Linked DNA regions of Homo sapiens: regions 2 and 3 are each linked to region 1. The links are contacts of gene promoters, found by promoter capture Hi-C in human tissues and cell types (Jung and others, 2019). All regions are on one chromosome and are shown on one strand. Each heading gives the region's core, a stretch centred on a gene start or on the middle of the fragment in contact. The rest is flanking DNA. Distances are from core to core; before and after follow the strand shown.

Region 1 (2,994 bases), core at 267-2,766:
GTCCCCTCCTTGATGGGGCCATCTCTGAGGATAGGGACGTGGCCCTAGTGCAGAGATGCTCAGGGATGTTTAGGGAAGGAAGTCATCAAGAGACCTAGATGTGAACCCCATCCATAGCGCCTCCCAAACCATGTGGTCTTGGCCTCCCTGGGCTTTGATTCCCTCATCAGTCCTGCCTGCGCTGCCAGGCTTCTGTGAGCCTTTAATGAGCCTGTGTTGACAGATGAATGCATTCTTGGGACTACTAATCAACGCATACAACTAAGGCCAAGAGAAGCCAGGGTTTCTACCCCAGGGACCCCCTTGGCCCCACCCTCTAGCCCTGGAGCTGGGTCCCTCTGCCTCTCCCAGGATGCAGTCAGAGGCCTGAGCTTCTGGAAACTCTTGGATCTCGTCCCTGCTCCTCCCAGTCCCACCTCGGCTCCAGGTGTCTATCTCTCCAGCTATTTTCTTTTCTGATCTGGAGTTCAAAAGAACAGATCTAGGAGCAACAGCCACGGGGAACAACAGCCAGCAGGCTAGTTCATGTTGGCCCAGCTGAGAGCCTGCGGGGCTGCCCACCTCTCCCTGCTGGGTTTGGGCACCCAGAAAGGAGGGCGTATGGGTTCTGGTTCTATGGGCATTAAAAGCCAATGTGACTGAGAACAGCAGCTCTAGTTAGAGGCAAGGCCAGTTTGGGGCCAGAGCAGGGGGAGGGGGAACCTGGTCTAATTAGAGCCCTAACATGCTCCTTTGAAAGCATTGTCAGATGTCCCCAGCCCTGCAGGCAGGGGTGGTGTAATAATAATAAAACAACATTTGCATAGAGATTTCATTTATAAAGCACTTTCTCAGGGGTGGGGTGGCACTGGGTGGCCCTGTGGAATCCTGGCTGGGAGGCCGCCCTGGCCTTGGTCGGTTCCGCCCTCCCGCCAAGCTGGCGATTGTGTGCGAGGTAAACAAAGCGCCATTCATCCAACTGTTTCAGTTCCTCTCCTCTTCATTCCTTTTTCCCTGTCTCCCACGAAGAGCTCACTCGGGGCTTGTCACTCAGGCCAGAAAAGGGGTGTCAGGGGCCCCAGAGGGAGACCCCTTCCCTCATGGGAAGAAGCGGGGAGGTGGGACGGCTCCCTCCCTCTGCAAACCCCCACCACCCCCAGCTCTGGCAGAATAACAGCCTTGCTGCGGTTGGTTTGTGCAACTCTTTGCTAACCTGTGGCTGTGTCTTCATGGACAAAGTATGAGCCCAGGTTTGGTAATGTCTGTGTGCACGCCACGTTTGTGTTCGGTAACATGCAAAGATAAGCAGTTTGTGGGGCTCTGCGAATCCCTCCCTATCCGAGTGAGCCTTGTGTACACAGTGTGGGGGTGAGGGGCCCTGGGGTGTCTGCCCCTGCACTGGGTGGGCCGGGTGAGGCAGCTGGGCCCTGCTCCTGTACAGCCCAGGCTGGAGCGTCCCCTGCAGTCACCTGGCCACTGGCACCCTGGGGTGAAGGGGGAGGCATTGGGCGCTGGCCCCTTAAGGGCCTCTGATGAGCTATATTGGGCCCACCTGCCTGGGTTCCAGCAGCTTCCGCAGCCCCAGCAGGAGACGGAAGATGCAAGAGGTCATTGCGGGGCTAGAGCGGTTCACCTTTGCCTTCGAGAAGGATGTCGAGATGCAGAAGGGCACTGGGCTCCTGCCTTTCCAGGGCATGGACAGTGAGTGAGGGTGGGGCCACTTTCCCTCCCCTACCTTCTCTGTTTTTTTTTCTTTGAGACGGAGTCTCGCTCTGTAGCCCAGGCTGGAGTGTAGTGGCACAATCTCGGCTCATTGCAAGCTCTGCCTCCTGGGTTCACGCCATTCTCCTGCCTCAGCCTCCCGAGGAGCTGGGACTACAGGCGCCCGCCACCACGCCCAGCTGATTTTTTGTATTTTTAGTAGAGACCGGGTTTCACCATGTTAGCCAGGATGGTCTCAATCTCCTGACCTCGTGATCCGCCCGCCTTGGCCTCCCAAAGTGCTGGGATTACAGGCATGAGCCACCACGCCCAGCCTCCCTCCCCCTTCCTTCTCTACAGGCCTCTCTGCTCAACTCCCTGATGCGACCGCCCCTTCTCTGTCTCTCTCTTCTGTGGCTTCGGGGCAACCCATTTTCCAGACTGAGAAAGAGAGGCACAGAGAGACGGTGAATTGAGAGAAGCCACACTGGCCTCCCGAGCTCCTGGGCCAGGCTTGAGCCCCTCGAGCTCCTCTGTTTCAGAGTTGGGGGGTTAAGGGTTGAGGTCTGCTGGCTGGCTCTGCAGGTTAACCTCTACAGGGCCCAGATTTGGGATCCCATAGGCCAGAGCCTGGGGGAGGTCTAGGTGGGACATGCCGATGGAGGTGGAGGCTTCCGGAACAGCTGCAGCCTCTGGGGAAGCTACCTTCTCCGTTCCCTCTTCTCCTTCCAGAGTCGGCCTCAGCTGTGTGCAACTTCTTCACTAAAGGGCTCTGTGAGAAAGGTGAGTTAGCAGACAGGCCTGGGCCCCAAGCTGGGTGAGTGTAGGGTCTGTCTGAGCTACACCCAGCAGGGGCTCTGCCTGGCCTGGGATAGGGTGTCGAATTTGCACCTGGGGAGGGAAAATTGGGATGGAACGGAATTTTATTTTTATTTTATTTATTTATTTTTAGATGGAATCTCGCTCTGTTGCCCAGGCTAGAGTGATCTGGCGTGATCTCAACTCACTGCAACCTCTGCCTCCTGGGTTCAAGCGATTCTCCTTCCTCAGCCTCCCGAGTAACTGGAACTACAGGTGCATGCCACCAAGCCCGGCTAATTTTTGCATTTTTAGTAGAGATGGAGTTTTGTCATGTTGGCCAGGCGGGTCTCAAACTCCTCACCTCAGGTGATCCACCTGCCTGGGCCTCCCAAAGTGCTGGGATTACAGGCGTGAGCCACCATGCCCGGCCATGGAGCAGAATTTTAGACTTACAGGTAGACAAAGGATAAGTGGTTGGATCCACCGAGCAGCCTGCCCCTCCCCTAAGATTTT
Region 2 (2,993 bases), core at 1-2,500, 54 kb after region 1:
CTCATTGACAATTCCACCTTGTAGTGTCAACAATTAAGGTGTTGTTGAACGCTGATAAAATGTAAGCTACCTGAACTGATGTCTAAAGCAACAAGTATTGTGAAATTTTGGGACAAGGATTAACTTGATGCTTAAAGTAACCCCCAACAGTAACTAGGGGGCCACATTCCATCAGTGAAACTGGAAAGATTGGTGTGGCTGAGAATCAGATGAGCAGAGGCACCTTTAGAAGAAATAATGTGGTAGTATTTATTTAGGGAGAGACAGATGTGTTGCCATGTTACTTAGTCATACTAGAGAGCCAGCCAAGTTTGAATAATGAAGGTGCAGACGTGTTGTCTTCTTCACTGACAAGCTGTCTGAACAAGGAGCCAGGAACTGTCGGGTCACCAGCTGTGGAGCGTGCCGGGGGGACAACCTGCCATTGGATGTAGAGAAAAGTGCCTTAGAGTTGGCCTGAGCCCTCCTGCCCACTCGCCCTCCGCGCGACGCCACTCGGAGTCCACACGGCACACACAAGCGGAGCTGAGAAGCACGATGGCTCTAGTCAGAGGACTTTGCTGTCGGTCCAGATTTGAAGAGGACACGGAACAGCATGAGCCTTTGTGACAAAACTAGAATTTGGAAATGAGGACTGTCTTGGGAAAAGGGTAGACACAGGCACTTCTCTCCACAGCCTGCTAACCTAATGTGGGCAGAACTGAAAGATCACTGCAGTGGAAACTGTTCTGGAAGAGGCTGCAACATAGCCCATGCTTAGGGACTGGATGGTTTTTGCAAGAGCTTTTTTTTTTTTTAAACTACCATCTCCCAACTTTTAAAGCCAGATACTTGACAAGGATTTTAGATCTTAATGGGTTCGATGGTAGGGAATACGGAAAGGATACACTGCTAATATTGTGTCTAACAATAAAGCAAACAACTCGATGCTGTAAGAAGACAAGCTGTTTGAGCTTTCAAACACACATGCACACAGCACAATTCAGAAATACCCAGGAGGATTCCTGCAGGCTTAACAGTTGGCATCGTACTGAAATGAAACGTGTATTAACAAGAAAATGTCAAACTTTTGGGGAAACAAATTTTCTGTTACTTCCCACCCAACTAAAAGGGAAGATAAAACCATCATCACCAGAACAAAACAGATTTTCTCCAAACAAGTACAATGATAGTGCCGGGTTGGCAGTTAACTCTTTCACCCTACTAAATTCAAGAGCTCATCTCCACCCTGTCCTGTATATTTTCTACATTTCTATTAAGAGGCTACTTGGTAGTGTCAGCGGGCATCTTTTACACCTTCTAGTAGCTCAAGCTAGTAAAACCTTGTACTTCTCTATTGCGCCGCCATTAAAAGCAGCATTAGTGCATTTTGTCATTCAGTTCTTAATCAGTTATTTAAAAGGGAGCTGATCATGGGTGGCTCGGTGGGAGGTGGGGACCCATCCACGGATGAGCCTCTTGCTCTTGGCACCAACCTGAGCTTTTGTTTCGATGTTTCTGGTTGATTTAGCCTTTCGAGTGCTTGTCATGCTCAGTGGGAGAAGTCCAAACCTCCAAAACAAGAGGAAAGAATTTAGTAGCACAAACAGGCAGCTCTGGGGCCCAGCAGAAGCCTCATTTTTTTTTTTTTTTTTTTTTTGAGACAGAGTCTCGTTCTGTCGCCCAGGCTGGAGTGCAGTGGCGCAATCTCGGCTCACTGCAAGCTCCGCCTCCTGGGTTCACGCCATTCTCCTGCCTCAGCCTCCTGAATAGCTGGGACTATAGGCACCTGCCACCAGGCCAGCTAATTTTTTGTATTTTTTTTAGTAGAGACAGGGTTTCACCATGTTAGCCAGGATGGTCTCGATCTCCTGACGTGATCCGTCCACCTTGGCCTCCCGAAGTGCCCCGCAGAAGCCTCTTGGCAGCCTTTACCTGATCTGACTGGATGCCAGTGGCAGGATGTTATGGGGTTCTTGGGAGTTGAACGTACTGCTCCGGGGGGCGAGCTGATTCTCTGTACCAGTCACCAATCCAAACAGAACCTGGCAGACAAGAGGTGGAGCAGAGGTTTCATTGTGCAGGTAAAAGAAAGGCAAAAAAAAAAAAAAAAAGGTTAGTCACCCATCGCTACCGTATTTCTAACTGTCATTTTGGGGAATGTTCTGAGTGCATTTATGCTTCACGATTACTTTTTATCACTGCCCACAGGTCAGAATCTGAGAGGCAGGGAGTTTTTATTCCTCTTTCTGAGGCCTGGATAAAACTGTAATAATCCTTATTTACAACTTAAGGGGCCAAATCTTGGTTGCCTCAGTGTGTGAGATTTTATCTAATCCTCTTTCAGTCCTTATAACTACACTCGGCTATTTGTGTCTTATTCCCCTCCCTATGCTGCATCCTGGAGTATTACGTGCTTGAGCAGGTTAATTTTGTTATTTGAGCCTGTATCGCTTCGTTCGCACTAAGCATGTTTTTGATTTGACTCACAGAAGTTCGCTGCACCAGGCGATGAAGGTTGCTGTTGAGGTGTGGCGTGAAAACGTCCAGGTCAAATGGATCAATGAGGGCTTCCAGGTGGTCAGTCACTTTCTCAATTCTGAGAAAAGGATTAGGATCATTACTGTCCACATTTTTTAGGATCAAAAACAATCTTATGATATCCTACTGCTGTAGAAATCTTGGAGTTGGGTTTTATTCTACTTAGTTGCTGGCTTAGTACGTTTGTCACTGATGATAGTGCTTAAGTCACCCTCAAGCATGATGTCTAAGTGAAGTCCACCCTTTCCCCCGTTCTGTCTATAAGGAGGGCACTAAGGGCTCAAATGATACTCAGCAGCTGCTAGGCTGACTCAGAAGAGAGGGGAATAAGAGTCCACCTATTTCACTTGACCATTGCATTTATCCAGCAGGCGGCCATTATTTAACTTGCTGGCAATATGAGCACTTACTGTTCAAAACAAACACAATGAATGTGCAGTATAACAGGCTGACTCTGGTGGCTTCCCAGCAAA
Region 3 (2,994 bases), core at 199-2,698, 34 kb after region 1:
AACGTGATGGAATCAACCATCTGTAGAAGTAACAGATGCTAACTGGTAATCTGCACCTAGATGGTTAGGGAAGAATATAATCAGTTATAGGGGTGCCTGCTAAAATCATAACCTGGTCTGTGGCATTAATGCCAAAAATTGTAATCTGATTGATTGAACTGATAGGGATGAGCATGAAGCTGTAATCTTGCCAGTTGTTAACACCATTGTTGAAAGAAGAATGTTTCAAGGATGAGATCTGCTAAGAGCCTAGAAAAAGGCAAATGAAGAGCAGGTAGGACTCTTTCTTAATCTGGTACCATCCAGAGGAGAAGGCTACCAACAGGCCAAAGAGATTATTCTGGTGCCTTGAGAGATCAAGTAATTTATGAGGCAGGGATATTTCATGTGACTCTCCCAGAGATTAGTTGAAATCCACAAAATCATCTCATCTTTTTTTGTTCTTACAGTCCCTCTGCCATGCAACCTCCTTGACATTCATAGTCTTGTCCCTGGAAAGATCTATCCCCCATTATAAATGAGGAGATAGCAAATTTTGATCAGGCTCCTAAGTTTGGTTAGAGTGACTCAGCAGCCCAAAGCCCAGTCAGCTGTTGGCACGCTGATAAAATGGGTGTGTGAGGACCAGCAGCTGCTACTTACTCAATGACTTTCTCTTTGGGTGTCGACTGGCCTCCCAGCAGACATTGCTTTGCCTCTGCAGAACACTCCCACTCAAATTCCCTGATCATATTAGGATGAAATTAGCAGTTTCTTGGTTCAAATTTATGATAAAAGCACACCCATTTAATGATTATTAAAACCTGATATTCATCTATTTTTTTTTAACCTCCAACTACTTCAAAGTAATGTGCAGCTAAGATCTGATCTCCTAAGAGAAAGGTGGGGAGCAGAAATGTCTTAGAATGAAGTAAATTACATAGCCCAGTGCAGGATGGTTGAAGCTTTATCAGAACCACACACTCTTTATTATTCCAAACTTAAGCTGGGATCCATACTCATTATTAAAGTTAGACCTATTCAGAATGTTGCAGAGTACAGAGAAGTGAGCTTAGGGTGATCATTTATTTTCTCTAATATTCAAACCTCAACTCAAAACCTTTAGGATTAAAGGCCTGCCACTGTAAGCCACCCTACTCTCATAGAAAGTGTATAATTATTTAGAAGACACTATATCCTCCAAATGTACATGCTTTCCAAGAGCTGTGTGTCCACACTAGCCTTTTGTCTCTTAACTATAGAAAGCTGAAACTTCAAGGGTTTTGTAATAGGTGCTGCTGCCATGTACATACAGACCTCTAGCCTGTGCTGCTCCGGAGAACGTTCTGCAGTGACGGAAATGTCCTTTATCTGTGCTGGTCAGTGCAGTAGCCACTAGCTACACGTGGCCACTGAGCACTAGAAACAGGGCAGCTGTGACCTAGGAACTGGATGGTTAATTTTAGTTAATTTAAATGTAAATAACCATATGTGGCTAGTGGCTACCGTATTGGACAGTACAGTTCCGGGCAATTTGACTGAAAATTATACCTCCTTTAATTTATTTCTGTTTTCTAACAGGTTCAGAAATCGTTTTGACAGCACATAATTCTTAAATAGAGTACATGCAAATTTGGTCTTTCTTGCATGTCCGAGAACACTTGCCTAAGAAAGATGTGTGATTTTTCTTTAAACCTGGAAATTTTAAGCAGCTTATGCTATCATCTCATAGTAACAATCTAGTGAAGTAATTGTTATATCATAATACCGGCTAGTGTTGCCAGAATAAGCAGGTGAATGTGACCAAGAGGTACTTTTATAAGGGTTTTCAGGGCAAATAGGCAAAGGCAGCCACTCTTATATCAAATGTTGTCATATGGAAGGGAGTACAATTAGGTAACTCGGAATCCTAATTTCAGGGAGTGTAAAAAGAAGAAAACCTTAATTAGGTTAGAGGTTGAAAGCTTAGTCATTAACCTCTTCCTGTTCTTGTTTCAGTCCCAACAGACATTTAAAATTGTTAAGCTTCTTTTTAGAAATGAGTTTTACTAACTTAAGCTTGACCTCGCTGCTGCTGTCTTGTATTTTTGCTCTTAGTGTCCAGTGATGCTGTACTTCCAACTGATAACCTATTGGGATATCATATGCTGAATTATGTTTTCTCAGGCCAGAGGGCAAATTTATATGTTGTTATGGTTTGCAATTCAAGTGTCCAAAACATCGGTTGTTTGGGTTTTTTTTTTTTTCTCCTTGTGATTTAATTTCAGGAAAAGGAGAAGGAATGGCAACGAAGAAGACAACCATCTTCCCCCCCAGACCAAAAGAAGTAGCAGAAACCCTGTCTTTCAGGATTCCTGGGACACAGAGGTAGGAAGTGTGGTCACATAGTCTGTTGTTTTCACTGCTTGAGTTAAATAACCTAGTATCTGCTGTGTAATTAAATTTACTTAAACAGTAATTTAAAATGACCTTAGTTGATTATACTGGTTTAACCTTTCTGTTTCCAAATCAGGGTCCCTTTGAGGAAGCTGTGTACCCTGTCCCCAGCAAAACAGTACATATGTGCACATAGTCATATATGTACACACTCATTTGTATTTGTTAGAAATTTCGTGGCTTTTTGAAAGCCTATGTTTGAACTCACTGTTTTGTATTTCAGCAGCGAACTTCTTTTCTGGTAGTTTATAAACCATGAATTGTCCTTAAGATAAACATATTTTGTTGCTTCAATTCAAATGCCTTTTAAGAGAAACTTTAAGCATGTAAAATATGTAAGGTATGTGTATGCAGAATCCCATTTCTCAGTGTTTTTACTTTTCATTATCTTGTTGTGAAAAGAGCTCCTGTGGTGAGAGGGAAGGGGAGTTGGGTGTTCTGGAACTTTTTTACAATTTTTGATTTCATGAAAGAGTGCTTCAGTACGCAGACTGAGGATACATTTTCTGTGCAATTGGAAGGCTGCTCTGTGCTGGGGAAAGGAAACCAATATAAAGTAATGCTGCTATTAAGTTATGC

Evidence for each region. The method cuts DNA at HindIII sites, captures the fragments that hold promoters and counts their contacts. A contact is called where the count stands out against the background at its distance.
Region 2: a contact is called between a fragment that was not itself captured here and the fragment with the promoter of CPSF4L in region 1, in 1 of the 25 tissues and cell types used here (liver).
Region 3: a fragment that was not itself captured here is called in contact with the fragment with the promoter of CPSF4L in region 1 in 4 of the 25 tissues and cell types used here (hippocampus, mesendoderm cells, spleen and 1 more).

The regions. Positions count from the first base shown.
Region 1 is chr17:73,260,402-73,263,395 of GRCh38, reverse strand. CPSF4L (cleavage and polyadenylation specific factor 4 like) reads left to right here and starts at 1,516. Exons shown (of 6, transcript NM_001129885.1): 1 at 1,516-1,680; 2 at 2,413-2,463. The coding sequence starts at 1,578. The HindIII fragment of the contact is 16,084 bases long and covers 1-2,994 here.
Region 2 is chr17:73,205,739-73,208,731 of GRCh38, reverse strand. It overlaps COG1 (component of oligomeric golgi complex 1), which reads right to left. Exons shown (of 14, transcript NM_018714.3): 11 at 2,470-2,578; 12 at 1,915-2,024; 13 at 1,476-1,551; 14 at 225-418. The coding sequence ends at 281. VCF1 (VCP nuclear cofactor family member 1) reads left to right here. Exons shown (of 4, transcript NM_001098832.2): 4 at 1-1,367. Among named protein-coding and RNA genes, the nearest start is that of COG1, 14 kb to the right of the region's middle. The HindIII fragment of the contact is 8,479 bases long and covers 1-2,993 here.
Region 3 is chr17:73,226,517-73,229,510 of GRCh38, reverse strand. VCF1 (VCP nuclear cofactor family member 1) reads left to right here. Exons shown (of 4, transcript NM_001098832.2): 2 at 2,247-2,346. Among named protein-coding and RNA genes, the nearest start is that of VCF1, 4.4 kb to the left of the region's middle. RefSeq lists an enhancer at 482-531. The HindIII fragment of the contact is 4,223 bases long and covers 1-2,994 here.